Linked DNA regions of Homo sapiens: all the other regions are linked to region 2. Evidence: promoter capture Hi-C in human tissues and cell types (Jung and others, 2019). All regions are on one chromosome and are shown on one strand. The core of a region is centred on a gene start or on the middle of the fragment in contact, and the rest is flanking DNA. Distances in the headings are between cores, read along the strand shown.

Evidence for each region. The method cuts DNA at HindIII sites, captures the fragments that hold promoters and counts their contacts. A contact is called where the count stands out against the background at its distance.
Region 1: the fragment with the promoter of POLR2L here is called in contact with the fragment with the promoter of RASSF7 in region 2 in 2 of the 25 tissues and cell types used here (psoas muscle and stomach).
Region 3: a contact is called between the fragment with the promoter of NLRP6 here and the fragment with the promoter of RASSF7 in region 2, in 1 of the 25 tissues and cell types used here (lymphoblastoid cells).
Region 4: a contact is called between a fragment that was not itself captured here and the fragment with the promoter of RASSF7 in region 2, in 1 of the 25 tissues and cell types used here (dorsolateral prefrontal cortex).

Annotation. Positions count from the first base shown.
Region 1 is chr11:841,043-843,779 of GRCh38, reverse strand. It overlaps POLR2L (RNA polymerase II, I and III subunit L), which reads left to right and starts at 1,251. Exons shown (of 2, transcript NM_021128.5): 1 at 1,251-1,366. The coding sequence starts at 1,272. It overlaps TSPAN4 (tetraspanin 4), which reads right to left and starts at 928. Exons shown (of 9, transcript NM_003271.5): 1 at 865-928. RefSeq lists silencers at 256-424, 410-639, 660-749, 860-1,489 and enhancers at 758-1,501, 1,502-2,247, 2,248-2,737. The HindIII fragment of the contact is 28,886 bases long and covers 1-2,737 here.
Region 2 is chr11:559,520-562,219 of GRCh38, reverse strand. RASSF7 (Ras association domain family member 7) reads right to left here and starts at 1,250. Exons shown (of 6, transcript NM_003475.4): 1 at 743-1,250; 2 at 328-458; 3 at 1-141. The coding sequence starts at 451. LMNTD2 (lamin tail domain containing 2) reads left to right here and starts at 1,482. Exons shown (of 14, transcript NM_173573.3): 1 at 1,482-1,537. The coding sequence starts at 1,504. LMNTD2-AS1 (LMNTD2 antisense RNA 1) reads right to left here. Exons shown (of 2, transcript NR_147607.1): 2 at 2,114-2,441. RefSeq lists an enhancer at 1-447. The HindIII fragment of the contact is 35,948 bases long and covers 1-2,700 here.
Region 3 is chr11:277,110-279,809 of GRCh38, reverse strand. It overlaps NLRP6 (NLR family pyrin domain containing 6), which reads right to left and starts at 1,403. Exons shown (of 8, transcript NM_001276700.2): 1 at 1,212-1,403; 2 at 203-483. The coding sequence starts at 1,240. RefSeq lists an enhancer at 1-103. The HindIII fragment of the contact is 18,362 bases long and covers 1-2,700 here.
Region 4 is chr11:907,110-909,817 of GRCh38, reverse strand. All of the region lies in intron 1 of CHID1 (chitinase domain containing 1), which reads left to right. Among named protein-coding and RNA genes, the nearest start is that of CHID1, 2.3 kb to the left of the region's middle. The HindIII fragment of the contact is 5,018 bases long and covers 1-2,708 here.

The sequences.
Region 1 (2,737 bases), core at 2-2,501, 280 kb before region 2:
AGAGCCCCCCATGGGTGCCGCTTTGCGGCCCACCCACCCCCACAGCCCACCTCGCACCTCCAAGGAGCCTTCTTTGCCTCTCACTGCACACCGACCCCCCATTTCCTCACCCCCACCCCAGGGGCACAGCAAGAAGGGTGCTGGTGCCAGCCCCCCCGCACTCCATCCGAGAGACACGGGCTCCTCGTCCCTCGTCGTCCGTAGGCCCTGAGCTCCAGGGCAAGCCAGAGCTGAGGCCTTCAGGGGGTCCTGCCAGTGCAGCCTCCGGGAGTCTGCCCAGGGATCCCCTGTGCCGGGGTCTTCCAGGTTCAGCTCAAAAAGCACCTCTTCCACGACTCCCTCCCCGACCTCCCTCCCGGGTCCCCTCTCCCCGTGCTCAGAGGCGCGTCTGAGCGTCGGGAGCTCGGGACGGCGAGCAGCCAGCAGAGCCGGGACCCGGGAGGGCGCACCCCGACCCCATTCCCGGGAAAGAGCGGAAAGAACGCGGACAGGAGCCCGGGGCGGGGAGCTGCCGGCGGGGGCTGTAATTGCGCAGCTGAGGCCAGGGCGGCGCCCCTAGGGGCTGGGCCGCGTCCAGAATGGGACCCCCGAACTCAGCGCCGAGAGCCCCGGACACCCCGCGGGCAGAGGCCGAGGCGGAGGAACCCACTACTCGGCGCGGCCAGGAGGGGCGGCAGGAAGACCCGCCCCGGCCCCCGCCCGCCCTCTCCCCGAGCCCCCGCGCCGGACCCCACTTGTTGCTGCGTGTCGGCTCTGGGCTCGAACTCGCGCGCCCCGCTCGCGTCCGGCTCCAGCCGCTCCCGGTCGGACACCTCCGGCCACGGGACCCTGGCCGCACGCCCCCACAACCCCCAGGCGCAGTACCTGCGCCGCCGCCTCCCGCTCGCGCCGCCCGCTCCCGCCGCGCAGCTGTCAGTCAAGCGGACACGAGAAACGCGAACCGCCGCCGCAGCTTTACGGCCCTGCTCAGACGCCGTAGCGCCGGGATGCACCAAGACGGTGGGCGGGGGTGTGCGGTCTGCTGCTGCCGCGGCCGCGCGGGCCCGGGAGCCCCGGGACGCACAGGCCCAGGAGCCCCGGGACGCACGGGAAGCCCCTATCGCGGCGGAAACTGCGGCCAGCGGTGGCGGGGCCGGTGGAGGGACGGCCGGAACAGCGGAGAACGAGCGGAGCCGATTCTCCCGCAACAGTGGACGCGCCCGGGGCGGGGCCTGGGGGGGTTCTTCGCGTGCGGCCGGGCCGGGCCGGGCAGTCTGGGACGCGCCGCCGCCATGATCATCCCTGTACGCTGCTTCACTTGTGGCAAGATCGTCGGCAACAAGTGGGAGGCTTACCTGGGGCTGCTGCAGGCCGAGTACACCGAGGGGTGAGGCGCGGGCCGGGGCTAGGGGCTGAGTCCGCCGTGGGGCGCGGGCCGGGGCTGGGGGCTGAGTCCGCCCTGGGGTGCGCGCCGGGGCGGGAGGCGCAGCGCTGCCTGAGGCCAGCGCCCCATGAGCAGCTTCAGGCCCGGCTTCTCCAGCCCCGCTCTGTGATCTGCTTTCGGGAGAACCTTATCCCCTGAAGTCTGGGGAAGAGAACGGAGTTGGGCTTCAAACCAGTGGTGTCCTGGGGATTCTAGGTGGCCTGGCGGGTCGCAGGCGTCTTGTCACCCGCAGTAAAGCCCTTGGCCTCCGCCCTATTCCCATCTCTGCCCCCAGGCCCACCCCATGTCCTGCAAACCTCGCTGCAGGACGGGCGGGCGCGGCGGCTGACATCTGTAATCCCAGCAGTTTGGGAGGCCGAGGCGAGAGGCTTGCTTGAGCCCAGGAGGTCGAGACCAGCCTGGACAACCTGGGGAGACCCTGATCTCCAGAAATTTATTTTATTTTATTTTTCTTTTTTGAGACGGAGTCTCGCTCCGTCGCCCAGGTTGGAGTGCAGTGGCGCGATCTCGGCTCACTGCAACCCCCGCCTCCTGGGCTCCAGCAATTCTCCTGTCTCAGCCTCCCGAGTAGCTGGGACTACAGGCGTGTGCCACCACGCCCGGCTAATTTTTGTATTTTCAGTAGAGATGGGATTTCGCCATGTTGGCCAGGCTGGTCTGGAACTCCTGACCTCAGGTGATCCACCCGCCTCGACCTCCCAAAGTGCTGAGGTTACAGGCGTGAGCCACCGCGCCTGGCTCTATCTTTTTAATTCGCCGGACATGGCGGTGCACACCTGTGGTCCCAGCTACTTGGGAGGCTGAGACGAGAAAATCGCTTGAGTCTGGGAGGCAGGTGGAGGTTGCAGTGAGCCAAGATCACGCCACTGCACTCCAGCCTGGAAGAGAGAGTGAAACTCCGTCTCACGCACACACACACACAGAAAAAGAAATGCAGGGTAGACTTGCTGACCACCCTCATCAGGCTTTGTAGGGGAGGCGTCTTTCTCCTGTGCTTGTCCCTTGGTGCTGCTGTCACCACGGTGCCTGAGTCTTGGTGCCCCCGCTGGAGTCTGACCCTCGCCCACTGAGTCTTCGTCACATGTGAAGCCCTGGGCTTGTGTGCGCCAGCCTGCCATCGGCACTTGGTGCAGCTTGCTGGACAAACGAGGAAAGCGAGTGGGCTGCTAGACTGAGTGGCTGGCGGCCTGTCCAGACCCTTTCCCCGGATAGGAACGGCAGGGGCCTCCCATGTGGCCTCCCCTTTCCCAAGCTTCTGTGTCTCTGCACATTGGAGCCATCGGTGTGGGAGTTTTCTGGAGGTCTTGAGGGTGA
Region 2 (2,700 bases), core at 1-2,500:
GCCCTGTGCGCCTCAGGACAAACTGGACATCGCTGGCAAACTGTCCGCAGGTGGCCTGGGCGCCCACTGGACACTCTTGTGGCAGCAACTGCCGCTCCTTCTCCCGAAGCCGCTGCACAAGCACAAAGCGGCCAGTCTGGCCTGGGAAGAAGAGGAGAAGGTCAGCCTATGTCCCCCCGACTCTCTGTCCACCTGGCTTGAAGAGTTGGGAAGAACAAAAAGGATCAGCAACCAGCCCCACTCTCCTTGGGGGAGACCATGGAGCTGGACCACCAGGTCCCACTTCAGCTCTACCTGCCCGGCCTGCCTGACCCCGAGAGGACTCACCTATTGCTTGGGCTAGTGCGATGACCACTTCCTGGCAGGTGGTCTGCTCTGAGACCCCACAGACCACACGCTGGATGCCATCCACCCACACCTTCAGCTCCATGGCCGCCAGTCCCAACAACATGCCTGTCCTGTGGGGAGGGCGCAGGCACCGGGTCAGGACCTGCCTACTCCTATCGCAGGCTGGTCCTCCTCTCCTCATCCTCTTGGCCTGCCCTAGAAACGGCTGGGCTGCCGCCCCTCCGCACGGGCCCCACCCTCCTGTGCCAGCCCCACCCGCCAGCCACACATTCCTGGGGTGGCGGCCCTCCGGAGCACGCATCCTCCCCCACTTCACCAGCTTCCTCTTGCCACGCTCGCACTCCCGGAACAAGGCGAATCATTAACCAGATCCAGCATTTCCTACTCGCCTCACCTGGCTCGGAGGACACTGCCCCCTCCCCGGGCGGCGCGGAGGCGCCCGCACGCCAGGCCCCGCGGCCGCCGGCATGGGAACGCCCCACCCCGACCTGCTCAGGCCGCAGAGGCGCTCGGGGTCGCAACCCAGACCTCGACCCTGCAGATGGAGCAGACTCCGGGTCTGAGCAGCCCCCGCCAGCCCGGGGAGCCCCGCCGCTGCCGCCTAATCGCTGCGCTCGCCCCGAAAGTCCCGGTCCCCGCCGCGGGCACCGAAGCCCGCGCCGCGACCCCAGCCTGGCGGGAGCCAGGGCGTCCCCGTTCCGCAGGGCGGGCGCAGGTGCGGCGCCGCCCCCGCTCTCCGTCCGGGCATCGCGGAAAACTCTCCCCAGTTGGAGTCGGCGTCCGGCCGGCTCGAGGCGCGCCCCGCGCTCCCAAGTACCGGGGACCCGGCGCGGCTCACCTGGGCGCTCGCCAGCCTGGAGACCCGCTCCGGCGCCGCCGCAACCTGCCGCCCCCAGCGCCGCGGCGCACCCGGGCCCCGCGCCCCCATTGGCCCGCGGTCCGCACGCCCCGCCCCTAGCACCCCTATTGGCTGCTCAGCGCGGGCGTTCCGCCCCCTCCCCGCGCCCATTGGCTGCCTCTGTCACGCCCCTCCCCGACCCATTGGCTCGTCGCCGCGCCCCGCCCCCCCCGAGACTACAGGTGTGGGCGGGTCGGAGGGGGGCGCCGAGCCGCAGTCCCCGCCCCCACCTCCCGCCTACCGCGAAAAACGCGGAAATGCGGTGGCTGCGGCCCGCGGGCAGGCGTCGGGGTAGGTGTCTGGCCCCGCTCCTGGGCCGACTTCCTCAGCAGCCTTCTAGTGTGGCGGGTTCCCGCCCAGGAAGGGTCTCTGGCTTGAGATCCCGCAACCCCCGCCTGCGTCCAGGGGCAGCGGGGCCAGCCCCTCCCCTCGCTTCCCGGGCCAGCCTTTGGGGCCTACCGCAGCTGCAGTAGTCTGGACGCGCAGGGGTCGCGGGGTCGCAGGGTCACCAGTCCCGGCGAGGGAGGTGGAGCCCTGCGGAGCTGGCGGGCGCAGAGTCCTGGTGCGGGAGGTGCCCGCTCAGAAGGCCCGGACTCTAGCTGAGGCTCTTCTCCGACACCTTCCTGCCCCTTTTGGACCCAGTGCCAGGCCATGCACACAGTGAAGCTGGCTGGAAGCCGCTCCTTCACCCCCTACCCTACTGTCCCGCCCAGGGCCCCGCAGCCTCGCGGTCAGCTGTGTGGGCCATTGATTGTTCTGCCCAGCTCAGAAAGAGTTGTGGGCGTGGGCCTCCTGCCCGCCTGTCTCCTGTGCTCCCCCAGGGAGCCCTTACATAGCCGAAAGTTGCAGAGATGAAGGGTGAAAGCTGGAATGATTGGGTTTTAATGGGTCAGGTCTGGGACCTGGCTTTTCTCCTGGAGCAGAGGGAATACTTGTCATGGTAATGGGGTAGCCCAGAGGGTGTGGACACGGCTGGGAAAAGTGAGGCTTCAGTTTGGGGGTCAGGTAGGTGAGTGCCTGTCACTGAGGTCAAAGGAGCTGTGGGCTGGGCCTGGCGGTGGAGGCGGGTGCCTGTAGTTTCAGCAAGTCAGGAGGCGGAAGTGGGAGGATCACCTGAGCCCAGGAATTCGAGGTTAACGTGCGCTGTCATCACACCGAAGCATTCCAGCCTGGACAGCGGAGCAAGACCCTGTCTCTAAAGAATTAATTATTAATTTAAAAACAGGCTGTGGGCAGGAGTGTACTATTGCCAGTTAGCGTTCAGCACAGTCCCCAGCTTGTCACTGTTACCTGTCTGCTTCCCCCACACACCCATGGCTATGCTGGGCTGGCTCACAGGCAGCAGTGCCCCCCTATTTATCCCGCTGCTGCTGCCAGGCTAGGTAGGGGATGCTGGGGCCTCCCTCAGGGTGTTGGTCACTAAGTGGTCCCCCCGCTAAGCTGAGCAGTGGCTC
Region 3 (2,700 bases), core at 154-2,653, 280 kb after region 2:
TCCGCCGAGGGCGGGAACAGGGGAAGGCGCCACGGGGGTCCGAGTCACCCTGAGGAGCACGCAGGGTCCTACCCCTGGGGCCCGCGAATTTGTGGATAAAACGCGCGGGGGCCGGGGACCGCGCCGGGGCTTCTCCGGGAAGCGGGAAGGAGGGCAGCCCAGCCTCTGCCCAGACAGGAGGGACCTCCCGCGCAGAACTCACGCTGCAGCCGCCGCTCCTGGAGCTGCGCCGCCACGTCGCGCGCGTCCGCCCTCTTGAGGGTCTTGCGGGCCACCTCCAGGGCAGGCTCCGGGCCGTAGAACTGGGCCAGCTGCTCCGCGAGGTCCACGGCGTCCGCGCGCTCCAGCCGCCCCCACGGGATGCTGCGTCCGTCCGGGCCCACGTCGCGCAGCTTGTGGCGGAAGCGCTTCAGCTGCTCTTGGCTCAGTTCCTCCAGCGCAGCCAGGAGCAGCTCGCGGGCCACCGCGAGGCGCGGCCCCGTGCTGGAGGCGGGCGGGCGCGGGTCATCGGGGAGCGGCCCTCGGGTGACCCCCGCCCGCCCCCGACTCTGGCGCCGGAGAACCCACCGCGGGCAGGGCCTCAGGGAGTCCCGGGCCAAGCATCGTCTGGATCCATGGGGTGGCGGGAGGGGGCAACGGGGAGTGACCCCAGACTTTTCCCTCCCCCGTCCCCGGACCCGGGTCGGGGCGTCTTGGTGTTCTTCGCCCTCTGAGGGTGAAGTGGGCACTGGCCGCCGCTGATCTGAGCTCTGGGGGGCACCTTCCTCCCCTGCACCTCCCTTTCTGCTTCTGTCCTTCCACACCCCAGGACAGGTCACATGCCCCGAGGGAGGTATTTCCAAGGAACCCTGAGCTCTCTTTCCTCGCTTTCCTTCTTTTCCCTCTCTTCCCGATCCCGGAGCAGAACTGGCCTCTTTGGCAGCAGACACTGCCAGGCCCAGGCTGTATTCCTGGGCCCCCACCCCTGCCACACTTTGGTGGGGCCCAGCTTGGGGCCTTGCACCAGGGCCTGAATCTGAGCCCCTGGTGGGGAACAGACTCCACAAATGCCCTCTGTGGGGAGGCAGTGCTTGGCTCCTGAGCCTGGGAGTGAGGGTGGGGGAAGGATGTGGACAAGGGTGGAGAGCCTGAGGAAGTCAGCGGGTGAGGTGGAGGCCCCAGAGGGCTGAGACCAGCCGGTTCCCAGTGACCACCCTGGGGCCAGCACTCACCTGGAGCAGGGGGCCTCTGGCTGGTCCATGGGGTCTCTTCCTCCCTGGGTCTAGCACTCCGGGGCAGAGGTGGGGATCAGAGAGGTGATTCCTTCACAGGCTGAGCTGGAGCCAAGTCTTAGAGGTTGTCCAGCCCGGTCCATTCCCCGGGTCCACACACCGCAGCTCAGCTGGCACGAGATGCTGTTGGGCACCGTGGCACACGCAGAGCATTGCCCTTTAAGGGCTCCGTTTGGTGACCTTTGATTTTCTTACTCCTTTATCCCATTAATGTTCCCCAAGAACCCCTGGGTGTGGCATCGGGGCATGGCTGTGAGCAGGCAGCTTCAGAGCAAGGTGGGTTGTGTGAAGGAGGTGGCTGGCTCAGAGCCAGGCCTTCAGCTGAGGCCTGGGGAGAGGTTAGACTCTGAAGGCAGGGGTGAGGAAAGACTTCCAGGTAGAGGGAACAGGGGGGACAGCCAGCAGCACGCACCATATATGGGAGGGAAGGCAGTCTCCAGGGAGACGCCGGGCAGGGGTCTGCACTGCAGCCTCCCCACCCGACCTGAACAGCTGGCGGGCAGAGGCTGGACGTCAGGGGTGTTCGAGACCCCTGGGACCAAATGTGAGAGTGTGTGGAACGGGGGGGTTAATATGTGGAAATGAGAGGTGCTGGGTAAAATAAGGCTGAGACCTACTGGGCTGCATTCCCAGGAGGGTAGACATTCTAAGTCACAGGATGAGACAGGAGGTTGACACAAGATACAGGTCATAAAGGCCTTGCTGATAATGGTGTAAAGAAGCTGGCCCAAAACCACCAGAACCAAGATGGCAATGAGAGTGACCTCTGGTCATCCTCACAGCTCATTACTCTAGTTACAGTACATTAGCACACTAAAAGACACTCCCACCAACACGATGACAGTTTATAAATGCCATGGCAAAGTCAGGAAGTTACCCTATATGGTCTAAAAGGGGAGGAACCCTCAGTTCTGAGAATTGCCCACCACTTTCCTGGAAAACTCATGAATAATCCACTCCTCGTTTAGCATATAATCAAGAAATAACCATAAAAATGGGCAACCAGCAGCCTTTGGGGCTGCTCTGCCTATAGAATAGCCATTCTTTTATTCCTTTACTTTCTCAATAAACTTGCTCTCACTTTACTCTTTTTTTTTTTTTTTTTTTTTTCATGGAGTCTCGTTCTGTCGCCAGGCGGAGTGCAGTGGCACGATCTCGGCTCACTTCAAACTCCGCCTCCTGGGTTCAAGCAATTCTCCTGCCTCAGCCTCCTGAGTAGCTGGAATTACAGGCATGCACCACCATGCCTGGCTAATTTTTGTATTTTTAGTAGAGACGGGGTTTCACCATGTTGGTCAGGCTGGCCTTGAACTCTTGACCTTGTGATCTGCCTGCCTTGGACCTCCCAAAGTGCTGGGATTACTGGTGTGAGCGACCATGCCTGGCACTTTACTCTTTATGGATTTGACTCAAATTCTTTCTTGCATGA
Region 4 (2,708 bases), core at 149-2,648, 350 kb before region 2:
TTTGTAGAGACCAGGTCTGGCTGTGTTGCCAAAACCAGTCAAAAACTCCTGGCCTCCCAAAGTGCTAGGATCACAGGCCAGAGCCGCCATGCACCAGTTAGTTCTTCAAAACACAACAGAACAGGAGTTGTCAGTGCGTCCATCGCAGAATAGAGTTAGCTCTGATTGGCTGCTGTCGCTCTACACATGTACACACATGCACAACACATGTGCACACATGACATACACGTGTGCTGGGCTGTGACGTAAAGTGCATTTCTTACTGCTGGTCTCCATGAAAAGCATTGGAAAGCCCCTGCTGTGACTCCCATCATTTCCATCAACACCACCGAGGAGGTCCTGGACCTACGGACTGGGAGCGCAGGAAAGTGGGAGCAGTAGCGCTCCACCTTATCTTGTTACAGAGCGGTTTCTGGGACCCCTTTGGGTGACCAGGGTCGGGGCCTGTGCCTCTTCATAACACAACACATTCCCTTTGTGTGCGGGGCCGTTCTGCCCAAGGGAAGGTCATTGGCATTTGGGGAAGAAACGGTTTGATGCAGGAACACAGTGTGTGTGAACCTGGGAGTCTGTGTTATGTGAAGAGCATGATGGAGAGTGTCCTCACGGGCCTCAGAGCCGAGCGGCCGGTGAGCAGTGGGGAGCGGGAGAGGTACCAAAGCCCAGACAAGGGCCTGGTTGCAGTGTGAGCACCCCTCACACATCACACACACCATCTCCCTGGGGCAGTTGTCTGGAAAGTTCCATGGCAAGTCAAAGAAGCAGCCCAGCATTTGTGAGCAGCCTGTATCCAAGCACTCCATCACAGAGCGGGCAAGTTAAGCGCGAGTGGACAGAGGCAGTACCCTGGCCTTGTGTTCAGTTAGGTTCTCCTAGTGTCCCCTCTGCTGGACACATGCTGGCAGGACTGTCTTCCTCTTCCACCCTTTCCTCTTCCTTCCCTGAAGTGTGAAATCACAGGTTGGGGGGCAGGGAGGTCATAGGCAGAGGGGCCACTAGGTGGGTGGACAGTGGCCCTGTTTCAAATCTGCAGGACGGCAGGTAGGGGCAGAGACCCAGCCCTATAGTGGTTGGTCACTGGGTACCTGAGTGTGCCCTCCAGTTACTCCTGGGCCAGTCCCCTGGAGAACCACCGTTTGGTTTTTCATTCCTTTCCTTCCTCCCTGACCCAGATTTCCACCCAGAAGACAGAGAAGGAGCCAGTGGTCATGGAATGGGCTGGGGTCAAAGACTGGGTGCCTGGGAGCTGAGGCAGCCACCGTTTCAGCCTGGCCAGGCAAGTGATTCTGGGCCGTCTTCCCTGTGCCATGGCCAGAACCCTCCCCACCTTCCCTGGGGCTGTTGCTGACTCAGACCAAGCCTCAGCTGCAGCAGAAAGATAGTGGGGCTAAGGGGAGGTGGCAGCAGGCTGCTGCCCTTGGTTCTGATTCTGGGATGTATCACTGAGGAGAGGGGCTGGAGAGGTTGATCGGGGCAGAGGGTGGTGATCTGTGCCTGGGCCTTCTTATTCCCCCTGCACAGCCTCTCGGAACTGCCGTGGCTGTTCAAGCACTCACTGCCTTTGCCTGTGGCTCCATGTACTGGGTGCTGCTGTGCTTGCCCTGTGAGTTCCCTTCCTAACTCCCCATAAGCCTGCAGGTCAGGCTGTCTTGTGGCTCCCTGCCTCCTAGGTGGGGGAGCTTCACTGGTTGATCTTGCTCCAGGAGCGTGTTCTTTCTATGCAGGTGTGTTGTGGGTGTATTGGGTACCAAAGCATGCAAACTCCCTGCCTGGGGGTAGCCACAGTCTCCTCAGTCTGCACCAGGAGCACCAGTCTCACCCAGGGAAGAGACAGGGCAAAGTGGGGCAGCGTGTGCCTCTGCAGAAGAAAGCAGGTCAAGGGGACGGTTTCAGAGGAAGTGAAAACAGGTTCCTGGCCAGGGAGTCTTTTGGGTAGGAGGGTAGGCACTGTGGTAGGCCTGGCTCTGGCAGCATCTTCTGACAGGTGCACCTGCCTGGCTGGGGTTCCTGGAGCCTCTTGGGCCTGAGCTCCCATATACTCAGGAGCCTGTGACCCAAGGGGAAGGCCATGTGCCCAGCTGCTGGGTAGTGAGTTGGGCTGAGCTCCCCACCTGTCAGGTATCTGCCTCTGCCCAGGCTGTGTGGGCCTCTCAGCTGGTCTAGAGGGGTCTGTGCTGCCAGAGCTGTGAAACTAGCCAAGAGCTTCTTCCCAGCAGTGTCCCAAAGCTTCATGAAGGACTAACAGTCTGGCTGGGCTATGGTGGTGGTTCAGCTCCCACCGCCGCTGCCCCCAACCCCAGTGAAAGATAGAAAGTAGAATCACTTTTTTTTTTTTTTTAAAGACAGTCTCGCACCGTCGCCCAGGCTGGAGTGCACTGGCACTATCTCGGCTCACTGCGAACTCCACCTCCTGGATTCACACCATTCTCCTGCTTCAGCCTCTCGAATAGCTGGGACTACAGGCGCCTGCCACCATGCCTGGCTAATTTTTTGTATTTTTAGCAGAGATGGGGTTTCACCGTGTTAGCCAGGATGGTCTCGATCTCCTGACCTCGTGATCTGCCCGCTTCGGCCTCCCAAAGTGCTGGGATTACAGGCGTGAGCCACCGCGCCCGGCCGGAAAGTAGAATCACTTTTGTTGGTGGCCCCTAGAACCTGAAAGTGAACAGTGTAATAAAAGTTTAGTGCAGGAAGACCAGAAGATACAG